Regions from separate parts of the Homo sapiens genome. Here regions 1 and 2 are each linked to region 3. Evidence: promoter capture Hi-C in human tissues and cell types (Jung and others, 2019). All regions are on one chromosome and are shown on one strand. Each heading gives the region's core, a stretch centred on a gene start or on the middle of the fragment in contact. The rest is flanking DNA. Distances are from core to core; before and after follow the strand shown.

Region 1 (2,700 bases), core at 116-2,615, 110 kb before region 3:
TCATATTTTAGGACTTTTTGTCAACGAAATTGGTTTTGATCCCTTTGGGTACCATTTTTATTGTTTTATGTAGAATGTTAGAAATTACCACTAATTTACCTGGCAGTGATGTCAAATTGACTGTAATTAGCAGGTAGAAAATTATTTGTATTATATTCATCTGATTCCTATACTGGATGAGCAAGGAGCATGCTTCCTTTGGGACATTCTTACAGCAGGGTGTCTCTCCAACAGCCCGACAGGCCTCATCTTTTTGGTTGGATACCTTTGAACTCCATGGTTACGTGTTAGGTCCACATTTGTGTTTTTTTCTAGCCTACCTATAGTTGTTGGCCTTTTTGCATATAACTCTCGGGTAATATTTTGAAGCATGCTGACCATCCAGGCATATAGTATTTTCAAGAAATGACTGAGGTAGGGGTGGGGGTCCTGGTCCGGCTGATGGGGGTTTGCTCAGCACTGTGCCAGTGGAAGCAGGTGTATTGTGGGCAGTTTTGTCATTGTCCTCAAGTCCTTCGCAGACAGTGCACAGCCTGCTGTCTGCAGTCGGCCAGACCAGGCTCCTCCCCAGCACACTCCCTGTGGGATGGCCGCTGCTCAGGACACAGTGGGACAAAGTTGGGTTGATAGGATATTTTAGATTCATTTTACCTTTGACAAGGGCAGGCCTTGAATTGGGAGCAGCAGCCACCTGGCCTCACTCTGGCCACAGGTGACACTTGGTCCTTGCTGCCACCTGCTTGGGGCTATGTGGCTACGGCTACACAAAAGCCTGTGCAGGTTAGAAGACGACTGTGGTGTGCAGTGGTGCTCTGGGAGTGGAGACTTCCTCTGTTCTCAGAGACTCACCCCCAGCCCTGACCCTAGAATTTAGGGATAGCCAGGAAGTTTCTAGTTTGTGTAACCTAGAAGGGTCACTTTAATAAAAATTGTTATGAACTATAGTATTTTAGATGATGAGTGACTTATTTTAATTCCACTTTAACATTTTACTGTGCTGTTAACTTGGAAGACCTGTTTGAAATTAGTCTTGATTTCACACTCATTTAATCTGCTGAGCACAGGGCTGTTGTCATTTGTAAACGCAAACACTGTGGAGGTACTTCTCGCCATCAGCTTCCTTCTTTACAAAACCATCATTTCAACATGAAAATTATGTCAGTTTATAGAAATATTTATTGTTCAAGGTCTGTAATTGTATTTCAAAAACGATGTCGTATTCAAGTTGTGAAGGGATTTGTTTTGTCAAAAAATTAAAAACTCAATGTGTATGACGCCACTCTGAAGAGTAGGTGAGCGCTTTGCAGTCACAGAAGGTGGCATCTGACTGCGGCTCATACAGGTCACCCTGAAGGGCCACGTGCTTTTAGCAGTTGGCTGGAATGTGTTCACTAGGTTCCGTTATGTTTGGTAATATCATCTTGAAAAGTCCCTGTAATAGATCAAGGAGACTGCATTCCCTGCCCTGAAGGAATGTATTTCTAAGGCAAATAGGCAACTTGGTACTATCTTATTCTGAGTAGAGAGTGGAGAAAGTATTTTCAGACTGAAGAAAACTTTGAAAAGTCAGGAGCTAAGCTGCTCGGAGCTCAGTGCCGCAGCATGGCTGTGGTGGACGCGGGAAACAACGGGAAAGTTCTTGACAGAGTCTGTGTCCGCTCAGTCCCTGCACTTTTCCTTTCCAAATGCATCTCGTTGGATATGGAATAGATCGTAGATGTTGTAGACTGAGATTTGGGACTATGTTGGGACCGTACAGGTGAATGTGCCACCTCCACAAATGGCTTCTCCGAGTGAGTCACGTCACCTGGTGCGTGGAGGTGGAGCCTGCGGCTGGAGTAAGGCTTGCTGTGGGACGCCCTCGTACTTTGCTCTCCTTGCGGGTGGTTGCCGAGCCGAGAGCATTGGATCCTCCCCGACTGTGGCTAGTTGTCTGTCCGGTGGCTGGGAGGGGGTGTGGTGGGAAAAAGTCGGAATCTCTGCAATCTGTGTCATGGACTGTACTATTGTAAGGTCTATATTCTGTATGTGGGTCCCAGACCCTGATCAGGAAATGAGCCTCATGTGTGTCGTTAACATTTATATATTTCCATTCAAAATATGTATTCAGTGTTTATTTCCTCAAAACAGACTTTGTTAATGTAGGAAATCTCTCCAAGTGGAAACGTGCTAACTTTTTCTGTAAATCTGAAATAAAAGGTGCTGTTCCTTCCTCTGACCCAGGACTGCTTTGTGTTTTCTGTCTTTCTCTCCATGCATTTTTTTTCTCATTTTTAAAGCTTTTTAAGTTTGTTCCACCACGTTAAGGGAAGAGCATGGGTTGGTGGATAGCGCTGGGGCTCTCTCCCCTGAGCCATGCAGAAGGCCCCTTTCTCTGGGCCTTGGTTCCCCCATCAGATGGGTCAGCTTGGGCGACTGTGTGGGTGACTCTCTGAGTGGGGCCCCAGACAGTGTGGCCACTGCTTCCCCATGCCCTGTGCTCCCCTGGCTCCCCCTCCAGTCTCATCTCAGAAGTGCTCAGGTCTCCACTGCTGAGTCCATATCTGATGCGCTTGTTAAATTGGAGGTTTGAACTCAGAGCACGTCAAGTGGCCCTTTGTGGGTGTTAAAGAACAGGATGTGCGCTGTGGCTCTTGCAGGGCCCTCCTGGCAGCCTCACAGTGACAGAGCCTTAAAGTGTGCACTGCTCTGATTAGTGTT
Region 2 (2,700 bases), core at 43-2,542, 96 kb after region 3:
GAGGCAGAGCTTGCAGTGAGCTGAGATCACGCCACTGCACTCCAGCCTGGGCGACAGCGAGACTCCATCTCAACAAAAAAAAAAAAAAAAAAAAAAAAAAGACATTTTAAGTATGGCAAACCAGAATATATATCTTAAAAGTTAAAAGGCAAAAGAAAATTGGAGGAAAATAATTCAACATTTCATAAAGGGTTAATTTTTATTATATAAAGAGCTTTTCCATACCAATAGGAAAAAATAAACACCCTCCAGAGAAATGGGCAAATGACATGAACAGGCAATTCAAAGAAGAATAATTGTTTCATGTAGTCAACCTCAACAAATATTTAAAGAAATGGAAATTGAAAAAATGAGTCAGGAAAGTAATCAAAACGAAAATTCCTTGTGTTGGCAAGGATTAAGGGACCAAGCATTTCACATACTATGTGGTGGGAATGTTATTTTTGGCGAGAGGCTAATTTGGCAACATAAAGCCTTAAAAATACATATATACTGTGACTCAGAAATTCTATCTCTAGGAAATTGCACTATAGAAATCAACAGAAAAAAGTACCAAAAATGTTCATGGTATTGGTTATGGTATTGCTATTGAAGTTTGTATGGTATTGCTATGATAAAGTACAGGTATGTTTATGGTATTTCTATAAAATAATTAAAACTGCAAACAATCTAAATGACCATCAATAGGGGCAGCCATTAAATGGAATACAATGCAGCTGTTAAAAAGATGACACAAACTTCCAGTTAAAGGTCATGGCTGAATGCACATGTTATGTTTACATCTCATCTTTCCAAAAGTTCAACTGAAATAACAGAAAAATAAATAGGTAAAATTAGAGCTTCACTGAGAACCTGGGAGGAGTGCTACTCACAAACCAGACCCTTCAGAAACTTCTGGAAGAGAATAAAACACAGCAAGAGATTTACTGAAAATGTAATGGAAAAAGAAACTTATAACTGCATAAAAACAAAAGCAAGGACCTCCACGAAAAGTTTCTCAGCAGAATTCCTAAATAACTCTTAGATAAGAAGTATCAACTAAGAGAAACTACAGCAGTTGTGGTTGGTTGAGAAATTAGCCCAAGGGTAACGTGGCAGCAGTGCCTGCATTCAGAGGAGATGGCACTGGTATTCACATGGATATTGGTGCTGGTATTGGTATTCACATTACTATTGCTATTACTACCACTCTTCGCTAGATAAAGACCCCAGAAGAGCTCCCTAAAGTGCAAGGCCAGAGACAGCTGGCAGCCCGAGAGCTGACTGACCAAGAGTGGGTGTCCATGCACCCAAGAGGCCACACGATTAGCGCAAACTCACCCCATCCCAGCCTCTCTTCCTCTTCCTCACACAGTCACCTGAGTGTGTCCCTCTGCCTGCATGCACTCGGTACACCATCTATGCAAATGCCTGGGTGAAGGCCTGACCCTTAATGGAGGGAACCCACGGGACAGACACATGTTACGGAGGGAAGGGAAAGATGACTAACATTTGCTCATTCTGTAAACCTCCACATACTTGTATTTCTTTACCATGAATACATATTCATATTTATATATATATGTTAGTGTGTACTTAAATAATTCACATATTTAATTCATATATTTAAATTTAAATATAGATTCAAATCAATATTAATGTAGAATGATATCAAGAGATGTTAAAATAAGAAAGCATAATATAAAATAGCATGGCTTTATTTTTGTAGAAAAAAATTGTATTTTTTTTTTGACAGAGTCTCGCTCTGTCACCCAGGCTGGAGTGCAGTGGCGTTATCTCGGCTCACTGCAAGCTCCGCCTCCTGGGTTCACACCATTTTCCTGCCTCAGCCTCCCTAGTACCTGAGACTACAGGCACCCGCCACCACGCCCAGCTAATTTTTGTGTTTTTAGTAGAGACGGGGTTTCACCATATTGGCCAGGCTGGTCTTGAACTCCTGACCTCATGATCCACCGCCTCGGCCTCCCAAAGTGCTGGGATTACAGGCATGAGCCACCGCGCCTGGCCTAAAAAATTGTATTTTATAAATATATGTGCTTAGCAAAAAGTGTGGAAAGATAGATACCACAGTTCTGCACAGTGGATAACAAGTGACTTATTACTATTTTTATTTCTTTTCTGTATCTAAGGAATTTTCTATAATGAGAAATTAATCATGAGTCTTTTTTAGTTCAAAATACAGAGCCATTTAGAAAGTTAAGTGCTTTAAGTGTGATGCAAGCTGCATCATAAGTTCAAGGGAATTTAGAGCTTTTTTTTTTTTTTTCTTCATCAGAGATACAGCTTCAACAACCACCAAAAAATGGAGCTGTTCATCATAGCATCAGATACTTCAACACATTTCTGGAAATCAGAAGCCACCTGTCTGGCACAAATCTGAAAAGGAAGATGGGGTACGGGTGTCCTTTTTGCCTGCACACTGGAGTGCATGGGTTTCTGGGTGTGAAGCCCCCCTCTTGCTAACTCAGCACTTCATGAGAAGAGAACCCATCTGTCTTGTTCTCCTGCTATGTTCTCAGAATAAACAGAATAAAACACAACATATCAGTATGAAGTCCCCTCTTGGAAACAGAAAGTGCACAGGCAAACACATATGGAGAAAAAACTTCAATAGCAAGGCAGGAAAATGGCGTTTAACAAAGACAGTTGTTTAAACAACTTACAGGATGCTTGGCTGAAAGTCTTCCAGTCACAGTTCCA
Region 3 (2,700 bases), core at 169-2,668:
GTGACAAATAATGTACACCAATCAATAGCTTATGCCATTTTAATGCAAATTCTTGGTGAATTTAGGAGCTGCGTCTTCATTTTTCCTTTAAAAACGCACTTGCAACTGCTGCGAATGAGAGCGCGTGCATTCAGACCAACCTGAGTCTGTCCTTCCACGCTGCAGTCCTCAAACTTGGCCCCAACAAACTATTTCTATTCGTTTTGCCTGTTTTCTCCTTTAGGTTGAAAAGCTGACAGCGGGCCCCAGACACTGAGGGGGCGCCTTCCCAGCTTGGCTTCCCCTCCCCCCCACGCCCCCACCCCGTCCCCTGCCCCTCTCCAGGGCCCGTTCTCTGGCGGACGGGGCTGTGGACCAGTTCAGCCGCCCCTCCCCACCCCACCAGGGCGCTGCGGCCTCACTCCCACGTCCACGGGCAGGCCCAGCCCCTCCTGGCCTTCAGGTGACCTCAGCTGCCCGGCTGGCCCCAACTCCACCGCACAACGCAGACTGCGGGTCCCCAGGCCTGGACCCCTGGCCCCGTCCCGCCCGCGCATGTCGGGGAAGCTCTGCTCCGGCAGCCCTCGGGGTGGTGCTGGGAGGTCGCGCAGAACTGAAGGGGGCTAGGTTCGAGAAGCGCCGAGGATGGGGTCTGCGACCGCCTCCCCGCACCTGAGCTTCTCCGCCCCAGCCTGCGGCGTCTGCAGGTCCTACAAGGCGCAGAGCCCCCGCTGCACCTGCACCGAGGCCACGGGGCGCATGCGCGGCCGCGGGGGGCGGGGGCCGGGCCGGGAGGGGTCCTGCGGGCCCCGCATCCCCGTGCCCACTGCGGGGCTCGGACAGGGGGGCGCCGCGCCAGGCCGCAGACCCCGCCCTTCCGCGTCCCCACTCCGGCTGCCCGTGCGGCTCCGGACGAGGCTTCCCGGGGGCTCCGGGCCGGGGCAGCCGCGGCGCCCTCTCCCCAGGTCCACCGCGGGCGCTGCTTTCAAACAAAGGCAGGAGACGGAGCGGGAGACGCTGCCGTGACTGCTCCGGGCGGCCGCGGAGGAGGAGGAGGAGGACGTGGCGCCGCGATCGCCAGCGGTCGGGCCCGGGGTCGGGGCGCTCCCAGGCGCGCGGCGTGGGAGCGGGGGGCGGGGCGGGCGGCGCCCATCACGCGCTCCGCGGCCGGGTCCCGAGCCCCGCCGGACGCCCCCGGGCCAGGAGCCCCCGCCCGCGCCGCCGCCCCCGCCCGTGCCGGGCCCCTCGCGCTGCCCGGCCGCCCCGTCGCGCCCAGCGAGCCACCCGGCGAGGCGGGGGCGGCGTCTCCCCCACCCCCGCGATCACATGGTGACCCCCGGCAGCCAATGCAGTGGACGCTAGGACCCTGCGGGCCGCGGGCGCCGCGACTGCACCGGCGCCGCCGCATTATAAATACTTCTCCAAAATGCGGCGCAGCTCCCTGCGCGCGCCCCGGCCGCCCGCCGCCTCCGCCCCGCGCCCCTGAGCTGCCGCCGCCGCCGCCGCCGCTGCCGCCGCCGCCGCCGCCGCCGCGGGTCCGAGGGCGCCGCGCCCTTGCCCTGGGCCCGGCCGTGCCCGCCGCCGCCCGGCCGCGTCCCCGCTGCCGCGCCGCCCGGCCGGGTGCATGCATTGTGGGCCTCCCGACATGGTCTGCGAGACGAAGATCGTGGCCGCCGAGGACCATGAGGCGCTGCCGGGGGCCAAGAAGGACGCGCTGCTCGCCGCCGCCGGCGCCATGTGGCCCCCGCTGCCCGCCGCGCCCGGGCCGGCCGCCGCGCCCCCCGCGCCCCCACCTGCCCCGGTGGCTCAGCCTCACGGCGGGGCGGGGGGCGCGGGGCCGCCGGGGGGGCGCGGCGTGTGCATCCGCGAGTTCCGTGCGGCCGAGCAGGAGGCGGCGCGCCGCATCTTCTACGACGGCATCATGGAGCGCATCCCTAACACGGCCTTCCGCGGCCTGCGGCAGCACCCGCGCGCGCAGCTGCTCTACGCCCTGCTGGCGGGTCAGTGCGCCGGGCCCCCGGCTGCCGCAGTCCCTCGGGCCGGCGCGGAGCTCCCCCGCCCCGGCGTCCACGCGGACCCCGCGCCCGGCTCCCGGGGACCAGCCTGGGAAGCCCCCCGCTTTCTGCCGCGCCGGGCCCCGCGCAGGGCTGGCTATGGGCGTGGGGATGGGCGCAGGGCCCCGAGCGGGCCGGAGCCGGGGAGGGTCCGGGGTCCGCACCTGCGTCCCCGCCGCGCAGCCCCCCACCCCCACCGCCTCCCCTGTCCCCTCCCGGGCATCCTGGGTGGGGGCGGGTGCCAGGGCAGGTAGCGCCCGCCGCGGCTGGGCCCCGGCGAGTGCCTAAATATAATCTGCGGGCGGGGGAGGCCGCCTCCCGCTCGGTGCTAATTTATGAGGGGAAGACAGCCGGCGCCGCGGGGGGTGCGCGCGCCTGGCACAGCCGGGGCGGTCGCAGAGGGCGGCCCCTTCAGCGTCTTTGGGTGCCCTTCCCCTCAGAGCTTCCTGCCGGGGTGAGGGGGTTCGCTCCCATTTTACAGATGAGGCGCTTGAGGCCGCGTAGGGAGGACGCGACTCCCCCAAGGTCACGGCAGCCGAAATGCGGCTGGAAGCGGTGTGGGGCCTCCCTGCCCTGTCCCTGCCCTCAGAGCTCCCGGACGCTGGCCAGGAAGGGCTCTTGCTGGGGCCCTGGGAAGAGGGGGTCCTGGAGCCCGAGGCTGGAACGT

The links. Contacts are between HindIII fragments. The study calls those that stand out against the background at their distance.
Region 1: a contact is called between a fragment that was not itself captured here and the fragment with the promoter of NAT8L in region 3, in 3 of the 25 tissues and cell types used here (dorsolateral prefrontal cortex, lymphoblastoid cells and mesendoderm cells).
Region 2: a contact is called between a fragment that was not itself captured here and the fragment with the promoter of NAT8L in region 3, in 2 of the 25 tissues and cell types used here (adrenal gland and mesendoderm cells).

What each region holds. Positions count from the first base shown.
Region 1 is chr4:1,946,602-1,949,301 of GRCh38, forward strand. The region is part of intron 9 of NSD2 (nuclear receptor binding SET domain protein 2); the gene reads left to right. Among named protein-coding and RNA genes, the nearest start is that of MIR943, 39 kb to the right of the region's middle. The HindIII fragment of the contact is 5,987 bases long and covers 1-2,700 here.
Region 2 is chr4:2,154,125-2,156,824 of GRCh38, forward strand. POLN (DNA polymerase nu) reads right to left here. Exons shown (of 26, transcript NM_181808.4): 16 at 2,664-2,700. Among named protein-coding and RNA genes, the nearest start is that of HAUS3, 87 kb to the right of the region's middle. The HindIII fragment of the contact is 6,445 bases long and covers 1-2,700 here.
Region 3 is chr4:2,057,909-2,060,608 of GRCh38, forward strand. It overlaps NAT8L (N-acetyltransferase 8 like), which reads left to right and starts at 1,419. Exons shown (of 3, transcript NM_178557.4): 1 at 1,419-1,979. The coding sequence starts at 1,604. The HindIII fragment of the contact is 12,290 bases long and covers 1-2,700 here.